Linked DNA regions of Homo sapiens: all the other regions are linked to region 1. The links are contacts of gene promoters, found by promoter capture Hi-C in human tissues and cell types (Jung and others, 2019). All regions are on one chromosome and are shown on one strand. Each heading gives the region's core, a stretch centred on a gene start or on the middle of the fragment in contact. The rest is flanking DNA. Distances are from core to core; before and after follow the strand shown.

Evidence for each region. The method cuts DNA at HindIII sites, captures the fragments that hold promoters and counts their contacts. A contact is called where the count stands out against the background at its distance.
Region 2: the fragment with the promoter of KIAA1191 here is called in contact with the fragment with the promoter of HNRNPAB in region 1 in 1 of the 25 tissues and cell types used here (spleen).
Region 3: a contact is called between a fragment that was not itself captured here and the fragment with the promoter of HNRNPAB in region 1, in 1 of the 25 tissues and cell types used here (lymphoblastoid cells).

The regions. Positions count from the first base shown.
Region 1 is chr5:178,202,471-178,206,143 of GRCh38, reverse strand. It overlaps HNRNPAB (heterogeneous nuclear ribonucleoprotein A/B), which reads right to left and starts at 1,611. Exons shown (of 8, transcript NM_031266.3): 1 at 1,404-1,611; 2 at 1,098-1,329; 3 at 134-302. The coding sequence starts at 1,306. RefSeq lists silencers at 638-1,047, 1,078-1,187, 1,208-1,427, 1,728-1,797. The HindIII fragment of the contact is 21,768 bases long and covers 1-3,673 here.
Region 2 is chr5:176,359,814-176,363,486 of GRCh38, reverse strand. It overlaps KIAA1191, which reads left to right and starts at 1,723. Exons shown (of 9, transcript NM_020444.5): 1 at 1,723-1,885; 2 at 3,569-3,673. RefSeq lists an enhancer at 1,648-1,967. The HindIII fragment of the contact is 20,486 bases long and covers 1-3,673 here.
Region 3 is chr5:179,519,054-179,522,726 of GRCh38, reverse strand. It overlaps LOC128966623 (a long non-coding RNA gene), which reads right to left and starts at 270. Exons shown (of 5, transcript NR_185480.1): 1 at 23-270. LOC100289470 (chromosome 5 open reading frame 60-like) reads right to left here and starts at 231. Exons shown (of 4, transcript NR_171571.1): 1 at 23-231. RefSeq lists an enhancer at 3,623-3,673. The HindIII fragment of the contact is 4,239 bases long and covers 1-3,673 here.

The sequences.
Region 1 (3,673 bases), core at 362-2,861:
TCCGGCTTTGGGTTTTGCCCAAAGCACTTAAATCACATGCAGACCACACAAACTAGTCATGCTTTAAGAAAGGTGTCCTCTTAGAATTCAAATCGTTTCCACTGAGACTGCTGAAATCCAGTACCCAGCTTACCTTCTCCACACTGGCTGCATCTTTGAACAGGATAAACCCAAACCCTCTTGACCGTCCAGTGTTGGGATCCATTTTTATTGTACAGTCAACGACCTCTCCAAATTTAGTAAAATAGTCTTTTAAATCTTTTTTGCTAGTATCCCAGCTCAGGCCACCAACGAACATTTTTCTGAAATGGTAGGGTGAGACACACGGCAACAAGTCTTGTAAGCAAGCTGTGATTTTGGAAAGGACTGGCCCTGGCAAAGTTCTCACGAAGTCTACAGCTACCCTTAGAGTCTGCAAGGAGCACCTTAGAAAGATGTTAAATCTCCACTACCCTCCAAATTGAACTCAACCAGGACCCTAACGAGGCTTAACAAGGCTCTGCAGCCCCAGCCTGTGAGAAGCAAAGAAGGGACCACCTCACCAGGGGTATGGGACCTAACCACTCATAACTGGAAATTCATGTGTTCTACAACCATGTAGCAAAGGGCCAGCGTCTCCACCAACTCCTGAGAACTCGTTTCAAGGAACTCGATGTTTCCGGGGACCAAGCCCGCCCAGGGTTCAGACCGTGACTCCGCCCCCGGGAGAGGCGGAGGAGGGAGGTCCGGGCCCCGGCTCGCGCCAACTCCGCCCACGCAGCCGCCGGCGCGGCCCAAGACGCCGCCGGGCCCCGGGTCCGAGCGCTTTCCCTCTTCCGGGCCATCCGCCCGCCCCTGCGCCGGCTCCGGCCCTGGCCCTGGCCCTGGCAGCGCGCGAGCGGCCCCGGGGCGGCGCCAAAGTCGACCCAACAAACTCCCGCAAACTCCAGCGCGAGTGGCAGCGCCAGGCCCGGCCCGCGAACGCAGCGGCGACAGTCCGCGGGCCGCACCAGCCCCGACCCGGGCCAGGCCGCCGCCCCTCCCCCCGCCGCGTGGCGCCAACAAAAGGCGGCCCCGGAACAAAGGCGGCGCCCCCGTCCGCCCGCGGCCGCACCTACCCCGCGTCCTCCTCGTTCTTGCTGGCGTTGATCTGGTCGCCCTCGGCGCCGTTCTGATTCCCGCTCGGGGGCGCCGCGGTCGCGCCTCCAGCCCCCGCCGCGGCGCCCGTGCCAGCCCCGGCCGGCGACTCGCCTTCGGGGACGGCCTCATGTCCGTTCTCGGTGGCGCCCGTCGTCTCCATGGGCTGCTCCTCGCCCGCTTCCGACATGCTAGGCCGAGGCGCGGCGGCTCCTGCAACCAGCGGCGACAGCGCGTCAGGCCGGCGCGGCTCCCGCCAGAGCTCCCGCCCGCCGGCCGCCGCTCACCTCGCCGCCGATGACGCCGCGGGGCCCGCTCGTCCCCACCCGCAGGGGAAGGCGCCGCAGGCTCGGCCGCACTCAAGCTCGCGCTGCTGAGGCCTCGCCCCAGTCAGCCCACGGAGCTGCTCCAACTGTGTCTCCTCCTCCTTGGCCGCCGCCGCACGGGAACCCACCGACCAACAGCCAAGCTCCGTCCCGCGCGGTGCCGCCGCCTGACAATGCCGACTCGTGGCGCCCTTTATAATGCCGGAGCCGGGTGCCACATCGCAACAAACTGCACACTCATTGGCTGCTCAAGTCCGTCACTCAACCTAGCTTCAGCGTCCCATTGGCCGCCACGGCGCGCGCGCTCTAGACCTGGGCGGGCTTTGTCCTCATTTTAGAACGCGCGCGAGTCCGGCCGCTACGGAGGGCTCCCGAAGCCGGGCGGGACGGCGCCGGGTCCAGGGCGGCGGGCAGCTACAGCACATCGGTGGGAGGGCCTAATCGGATTGTAAGCTCGTCGAGGCCGCTGGTCTCTTGCTCTCGAGGACTCCATCCCAGCATTGGCAGCCTCCGCCTCCCCATGTCCCAAAAGAGGAAACTGGGCTGGAGAAAGTTTCGCAGCCCAAGGACGCGTGGCTGGAAGTGGCAGAACCCGGGCTTCCGAGGTTGGGCGAGTGGGGTCCTCCAAGGCCCTCAGCACGGGTCGGAGGGATTGGGACTGAACCCGCCATCCCCCTGGACCTTGGTGCCCTCCAAGCCCCGCGCTCGCGCCCTGTCCGTCGCCTCCCCCAGAGATGCTCTGCAGGGACGATGAGACCTTGGTGTTCCCCGGTTCTCTGTCCCCTGGCACCACCTGAACGATTGACATCGCATTTGTACTTTTGTTTACTTAAATTTTTTCCTGTAAATCATTTGTCTTTCTTTTTCTTCCTTTTTATTATTTTTTTTTTTTTGATGGAGTCTTGCTCTTGTCGCCCAGACTGGAGTGCAATGGCGCGATCTCGGCTCACCGCAACCTCCGCCTCCCGGGTTCAAGCGATTCTCCTGTCTCAGCCTCCCGAGTAGCTGGGATTACAGGCATGCGCCACCACGCCCGGCTAATTTTTTTGTTTTTTTAGTAGAGACGGGGTTTCACCATGTTGGCCAGGATGGTCTCGATCTCCTGACCTCGTGATCCGCCCGCCTGGGCCTCCCAAAGTACTGGGATTACAGGCGTGAGCCACCGCGCCCGGCCTTTTTTTTTTTTTTTTTTTTTTTAAACAAATACGGAGGCCGGGCGCGGTGGCTCCCGCCTGTACTCCCAGCACTTTGGGAGGTCCAGGCGGGCGGATCACGAGGTCAGGAGATCGAGACCATCCTGGCGAACATGGTGAAACCCCGTCTCTACTAAAAATACAAAAAAATTAGCCGGGCGTGGTGGTGGGCGCCTGTAGTCCCAGTTACCGGGAGGCTGAGGCAGGAGAATGGCGTGAACCCGGGAGGCGGAGCTTGCAGTGAGCCGAGATCTCGCCACTGCACTCCAGCCTGGGCGACAGAGCGAGACATCGTCTCAAAAACAAAACAAAACAAATACACCACTCGTGAACTCACGAGGTAAAGGACAGGGTGGGGGCGTTGTTCTCTTCCTAATACACAAAACTCCTTTATATTATCTCCTTGACCACAAAATTTTAAAGGCCTCGGTAATCCCGTTATTCCTTTTAATCATATGGGTGGTGGGCCCCAAGGCAAGCAGGATTACAACCTCTGGAGCCTGCAGGTTACCAAATAGCAACCCAGAACACAAGGAACTAGCGTTTCCAGTGGATTCCTGCAGCCAGGACCAGTGTGGTGGGCTGGGCATTCCATTTTCTCTTCTGTATCTTAACAACCAAAGTAAGGTGGTATGGTCACCAATTTTATTTATTTTATTTTTTGACACAAGGTTTTGTTCTGTAACCCAGGCTGGAGTCCAGTGGCACGATCACGGCTTACTGCAGCTTCAACCTCCCGGGCTCAAATGAGCCTCCTGCCTCAGCCTCCCAAGTAGCTGGAACCAGAAACGTGGCCACCACGCCAAGCGAATTTTTTGTAAACACAGGGTCTCCCTATGTTGCCCAGCTAGATCACCAGGTTTTTTTTTTCTTTGAGACGGGGGTCTCGCTCTGTCGCCCAGGCTGGAGTACAGTGGAGCCATCTCAGCTCACAGCAACCTCCACCTCCCAGGTTCTAGCGATTCTCCTGCCTCAGCCTCCTGAGTAGCTGGGATTGCAGGTGTGTTCCACCATGCCGGGCTAATTTTTGTATTTTTA
Region 2 (3,673 bases), core at 474-2,973, 1.8 Mb after region 1:
GGAATAGGGGCTGGGACCCAGAGCCAGGGGTACAGAGGAATCGCGAACTAAAAGGAGGTGAAGAGTTGAGACAATATAAAGGGAAAGAGGTAGCCCTGCTGGGCCCTGAGAGCCACAGGCGGTCTCTCAACCCATGTACCCTACAGCCAGCCGTACATGGCGTCACCCCTCTGGAGAGCCAAAAGAACCCGACTGCTGTACTCAGGTCGTTTCTCCTGTTCTTCCTCCTCGTGCTACACACGTGGAAGCCTTGGCAGTCACTGGGGGTACCTAGGACAAGGCAGACTGCAGCCTCCGTCTCCCAGGTTCAAGAGATTCTCCTGCCTCAGTCTCCAGAATAGCTGGGATTACAGGCACCTGTCACTACGCCTGGCTGATTTTTGTATTTTAGTAGAGACGGGGTTTCGCCGTGTTGGCCAGGATGGTCTCGAACGCCTCAGCCTCTGAAAGTGTTGGGATTACAGGCCTGAACCACCGTGCCCAGCCAGAAAAAGTTGTTTTAATCAAATAGTAACTTCCAGGAAAGTCTTAAGTTTTCATGTATTTGTGGCTAAGAAATAAATGAGATGATCCCACCTTATGATCTACATAAGGGTGCAAAGTGCTATTTCTTCCTTTTCTGACTGAGAGGTGATATACATCCCTTCCTGTGGTGGATAAAGAGCAAGGTGCCAGCTTTGCTTCCACAGAGGTTAAAAAATATGGCATATTTTAAAAGCTCCAAATTAACAAAGGAACACCTTTAACACACACACGCACGCACACATATACACACAATTATACTGCAATGTAATTGTGCTGTTGATAAGCTAATTATAGAATTCATCAAAGACTTTAATTCTTAGTGCACTCAAGCACCCTGGTCTGGAAACAGCGCTTAAGTTTCAAGTCGCATGAGCAAGGCCTCTCAGTTCTGCCAGTACGGCTGGAAGCCTCAAATGCTGAAATCTAAATGTGACATTCACCCTGCACCACCAATCATAGCTCTCCTGAGATGAGTTTTGATGGCGAGCTTTGGACTGGGGTAGAAACGTGGATAGATTTTTGCAAATTCTGCTGTAACTTCGTTGCTTCGCCTTCTTTGTGAACCCTTCAGGGATAAGAGAAGTCTTCCTTCAGGATGTGACTGACACCTCAGCTGGCGCCTCTAAGCCTCACTCTCCTTTATGTAAAAGAGAAATGATATTAGGATCGCCTTCCCTAGGGGAGGCAGGTGAGGTCGGTTCCCTTTTTTGGTTCAGCTACTAGTACGAACCCTGCCTAACCCCGCTGTTTTGGGAGACAGTCCGTGCTCACTGCACCGCTTGCTAATCGAAGTGACTTCTCATCTCTCCCAGTCTCAGCTTCACCTCCGTGAAGTGGGAAAAACAGGATGACAAGTGCTCGCACTTGGCAGCCCTTTTTGAGCCTTGAGGGCTTGGGTTTGTGGGTGTCATTTTACTATGCTACCTCCGTCTTCCCTTAGCTTGTCACGGACCCAGGCACAGCACACGCGCTGAGGAAGTGGTGGTGAAGTGTGGCGTTTCCTCTCGGGGCTGGCGGATTCCACACTCGGAGCTGCGGCTCCACAACTCGCTGGGCGGCGAAGGGCATGGGGAGGGGGCGGGTCTCGCGATCGTGGACAACAACTCCCAGCATGCCCTGTGCTCCGCTGGGCCAAGTCTCGCGCGAGATCCCGCGGTCTCCGGAGGCTTTATCTGCAGTGCTGCCTGCCCGCTGGGTGGTACTGCTACCTAGTGGGTCTTGGGGACCTTCGAAATCGCCGCCGCTCTCACAATGGCTTGGGTCCAGACTGCGCCACAGCCTCTCGGGAGACGTGGGCCCTCGGAACCTTTTTAGTGCCGGACTCCGGGCCGCAGGCAGTCCCGCGGCAGCAGGATCACAGGTGAACAGATGGCGGGCCTGGGCCCTCCCTTGGGGCTGCGTTCTCTGGCGATCAGGAGGGGCGCTTCCGGCGAGGCCCGATCTCGGGGCCCCTCCAAGCCACTCCCCTCTCCCCGCACCTCTTAACCCTTCATCCCGGCTTCGAGCTCGGCTGGGTCGCCTCTTGCCTCCCTGGCTCCGCTCTCTGGGGTCTCCGTAATGGGGCTTCTCTCCGGGAATGCCCTGCAGCTCCCGTACGGGCTTCCCCTCCGCTTCGTGGGACCAGCCCAGCCCGAGCCCCCGCGGCTTGTCCTCAACCTCATCTCCCCACACCCCGCCTTCGGCTAGGGTCCTGGCCCTAATCTTAGCCTGGAGGGGTGGGTGAAGCAGCCGGCCTTTCGTATCCTGGCGGCACCGTCTTGTATATTGTGAAGGAGAGGCAGAGGGACGGTGAGCTGGGGGGTGGGGGCACAGGGAAAGGGAAAGGGGAAGGGGACGTGTCTGGGGCGGGAATGCTCCCTGGACTGGGAGGATGGCTGAATTCGGCCTTTGCGATGCTCGTTAGTGAAGAACTATCAATAACTTGTTTGCTCTGTCTGAGTCCTATCGGGATAGAGGGACGGTGTAGCAAGCTGAAAAACAAGAGTAACTTTCTCAGGCCCTCGTTTTAACTCCCCTGTAAACTGGGCATGAAACTACCTACCTTGCGCACGGACCACTTATCTGTGACCGTGGACAAATTTACTTAACTCCTCTGATTTTTAGTTTCCTTCTCTTTATTATTATTTTTAACATTTTTTTAATTTTTTTAATTTTTATTTTTGAGACCGAGTCTCACTCCGTCGCCCAGGCTGGAGTACAGTGGCTCGATCTCGGCTCACTGCAACCTCCGCCTCCCGGGTTCAAGCTATTCTCCTGCCTCAGCCTCCCGAGTAGCTGGGATTACAGGCGCCCGCCACCATGCCCGGCTAATTTTTGTATTTTTAGTAGAGATGGGGTTTCACCATGTTGGCCAGGCTAGTCTCGAACTCCTGACCTCAAGTGATCTGCCCGCCTGGGTCTCGCAAAATGCTGGGATTACAGGCGTGAGCCACCGCACCCGGCCAGTTTCCTTCTCTTTAAATTTGGGATAGCCTTTCTGTAAGAGATAGCTTAAAAAAAAAACTGGGGTCGGGCGCGGTGGCTCACGCTTGTAATCCTAGCACTTTGGGAGGCCGAGGTGGGCGGATCGCAAGGTCAGGAGATCAAGACCATCCTGGCTAGTGCGGTGAAACCCCATCTCTACTAAAAATACAAAAAATTAGCCAGGCGTGGTGGCAGACGCCTGTAGTCCCAGCTACTTGGGAGGCTAAGGCAGGAGAATGGCGTGAACCCGGGAGGTGGAGCTTGCAGTGAGCCAAGATCGCGCCACTGCACTCCAGCCTGGGCGACAGAGTGAGACTCCGTCTCAAAAAAAAAAAAAAAAAAAAATTGGGATTGGGATAAATAATATCTGCTTTGCCATCTTGCTGCAAGGATTAAAAGACAAGATAAACGCTGTAAATAGTTTATAGTGTTAGCTATAAAGAACAAATTTCCCTACTGTAGTATCTAGCCGCTTGCTGTGAGTTAAGAAAATGAAATGAGCAAGGTTGTTGTGGGGAATAAACAAGTGTTTGGCAGACTCTGACGGGCTGTTCCAATGCTGGCTGTTTGTTGTTATTAGAACCTCTGGATGGACTCTTCCTGGGAAGCTTTGCTACTTTGCAGCAGCTGGACCATGTTCCTCATTAACATCTGTCTGTCCGCTTAGTCATCACATCATTTCACT
Region 3 (3,673 bases), core at 539-3,038, 1.3 Mb before region 1:
GTGTGGGCTGAGGGCTCCTTACATTCTCGCTGTCCTCCTCTCTGGGAGGCACTGAGGATGGCTCCCTGGGAATGTAGGGGCATAAGATGATCAGGATCACCAGGCTGAACACAATGAAGAGGACGAAATGGATGATCTGGGGAATGGGGCTGGGGCACAGCTCTGTCTCAATAACACTGTGCAGAGGAAAGAGAATATCCATGTCAACTGCACTGCTGTCCTCAGGCAGCTGAGCCCTGGGCATCCCCTCTGGGACAAGTTACTGGGGCCCAGGTCCACATCACAGAGCTGGGGCCTCCCCCTCACAAAGGGCTCCTAAGGGTGGGGTGGGCAGTGGGAGGAGGAGGCTAAAGCCCAGCCCCGCCCACCACCACCCACCCCTGCAGTTCCCTCCACCCTCCTGGCCTTCCGGATCCCTCCTTCCCACTCCACCTTCTCAACCTGTCAGAGACAGACCTGGCCCGTTTTCCGTCCTCTCACCCTGGCACACAGATGATACCTGGTTCATTGGAGAACTCTGCTCAGACTCCCTCAGTTTCACAGTTTTTGAGGATCTGGATTTGTCCCCGAAATTCCTGTTATTTCCAGGGATTATTGCTCCAGGGTCTCCTCTGCCTGCAATTCTAACCTCCCCACACAATATGTTCTTGCCTTGCTTCAACTCAGACATAGAGCTTACATTTTTATACTTGTTTATCATTGTGAGTTTTGAATAAATTTTTATAATTTTTGCTTCAATTAATCTTTACTGTCTTCAGCTAGACTTAATCAAAAATTAAATCAATTCTTTATTATTAAAATTCATAGGACTAAAAAAGTATAAAATTGAACTAAACCTTCAAAGAATATTTTTATATATTTGCAATATTTTTGCTTCTAAAATCAATAAAAGTTAAAGTGCATGAGAAATTTTGGAATATTTGGCATACACACACACACATACACACACACACATATACACACATACCCTGTGACAAATCAATTCAGTATTTTCAAATAGAAGAATCAAGCCTTTCTTTCAGTTCAGAAGCTTTCTTTTAGTGTTTCTTATGAGGTAGGATGGCTGGCAGCAAATTTTCTGTCTTTATCTGGGAATATCTTTATTTTTAAAAGATAGATTTGCTGGACATGGCATTTTTAGTTGACAATTTTTTTTCTTTCATTCTTTGACTATGCCATCCCATTGCCTTCCCATCATTCATTCATTCATTCTTTTTCTTTCTTTCTTTCTTTCTTTCTTTCTTTCTTTCTTTCTTTCTTTCTCTCTCTCTCTCTCTCTCTCTCTCTCTCTTTCTTTCTTTCTTTCTTTCTTTCTTTCTTTCTTTCTTTCTATTTCTCTCTCTCTCTCTCTCTTTCTTTCTTTTTGAGACAGAATCTCCCTCTGTTTGTTGCCCAGGCTGGAGTGCAGTGGTGTGATCTCAGCCCACTGCAAACTCTGCCTCCCAGGTTCAAGCGATTCTCTGGCCTTAGCCTTCAAGTAGCTGGGATTACAGGTGTGCACCAACATGCCTAGCTAATTTTTTCTTTTTTTTTCTCTTTTTTTGAGATGGAGTCTCACTCCGTCGCCCAGGCTGGAGTGCAGTGGCGAGATCTTGGCTCACTGCAACCTCCACCTCCCGGGTTCATGCCATTCTCCTGCCTCAGCCTCCCAAGTAGGTGGGACTACAGGCGCCTGCGACCACGCCTGGCTAATCTTTTGTATTTTTAGTAGAGATGGCATTTCACTGTGTTAGCCAGGATGGTCTTGATCTCCTGACCTCGTGATCTACCCACCTCGGCCTCCCAAAGCTCTGGGATTACAGGCGGGAGCCACCGCGCCTGGTCTAATTTTTGTATTTTTAGTAGAGATGGGGTTTCACCATGTTGGCCAAGCTGGTCTCGAACTCCTGACCTCAGGTATTCCACCTGCCTTGGCCTCTCAAAGTGCTGGGATTACAGGCGTGAGCTGCCGTTCATGGTCTCACCATTGTTTCTGATCAGAAATCAGTGGCTAATTTTATCGTGGTGCTCTTGTACATGAGGAGAAGTTTTTGTCTTACTGTTTTCAATATTTGCTCTTTGTGTTTTCGTAGCTTGACACAAGGTGTGTAGGAGTGGATATATTGGTATTTATTTTACTGAAAGTAAACATTGATTCTATAGATTAATGTTTTATATCAAATTTGGTAAGTTTTCAGCCATTATTTCTATAAATAATTCTTTCTTTCCCCTTTTCTTTCTTTCTGAGACTCTCATTCTACATATGTTGTGCTTGACGTTTCATAAGTCATTTTTCTTTTTCTTTTTTGTTTGAGACAGAGTTTCGCTCTTGTTGCCCAGGCTGGAGTGCAATGGCGTGATCTCGGCTCACTGCAACCTCTGCCTCCCAGGTTCAAGCGATTCTCCTGCCTCAGTCTCCTAAGTAGCTGGGATTACAGGCATGCACCTGTAACCTCAGGTGATTTGCTCGCCTCGGCCTCCCAAAGTGCTGGGATTACAGGATTGAGCCACCGTGCCTGGCCCTTTTTAAGTTCTTTTAACATAAGTAACTGCTTTGAAGTCTTTGTTTGCTAAGTGTGACATCTGGGGACACAAAGACAGTTTTCCCCCACACTTGCCTGTTTCTTTTTGTCTTGTAACTTATCATTGAACACTGGATACTTTAGGTTATAGACTCTTCAACTCTGGATTCTGAATCTTTTCCGCTGAGAGTTGTTACTGTTTGTTCGTTTGTTTGTAACCAGCCTGTACTAAATTTGTAAATTCTGTGAGCAGCGTGTATCCGGAGCCGTCTCTGCTCATTTTTTGTTTGTTTCTTATGCATGGCTTCCCAGGAACCGCTCCTTTATCTGCGTGCTTGGTATTCTGCCAACAGTTGTCTGAATTTGTACACGAACACCTTGAGTCGGTGAGGCTTCCACTGTTGCTGATGGATCTACCCGTGGACTAGGGCGTGCACACACAGCTCAGGCCATCTGCTTTCCACAGGCATCTCCCCTCGCTGTGTCTTCTCTTCGCATGAGCTCAGGAACCGTCATCTGTCAGTGATGCTGGGTGGTTTGGGCAGGTTCTGGTCTCTGAGGAGAAGAGCAGAGCTACTGGTCCTTCCTGTTTGTTTGCATCAATATCCCTATTTGAAAATTCTCCAAATCATGTGAGTCCCTCTGGTGGTGACAGCAAAGCTGCTGGTTTCATGGTGTTCAACAAATGTGTTTTATATTTAGGTCTATGGGCCGGGAGTGGTGGCTCAGGCCTGTAATCCAAGCACTTTGGGAGACTGAGGTGGGCAGATCACCAGAAGTCAGGAGTTCAAGACCAGCCTGGCCAACATGGTGAAACCCCATCTCTACTAAAAATACAAAATTTAGCCAGGCATGGTGGTGGTCACCTGTCATCCCAGCTACTCAGGGGGCTGAGGCTGGAGAATCGCTTGAACCTGGGAGGCAGAGGTTGCAGTGAGCCGAGATTGCACACAATAAATAAATGATTTAATGCCCATACAATGGAGTGCCGTGCAGCTCTTAAAAAGAATGCCACGAGGATGGTCAACACATGCTGTTCTCCTGGATGAGGATTATTACCATCAGCTCCATTTTTCAGGTGAGAAAACTGAGACTTAGGGAGGCTACATAATTTTCCGAAGGTCACTCCCTACTGAATGTAGGAGCAGGGATCTGACAGCCACCTAATGACA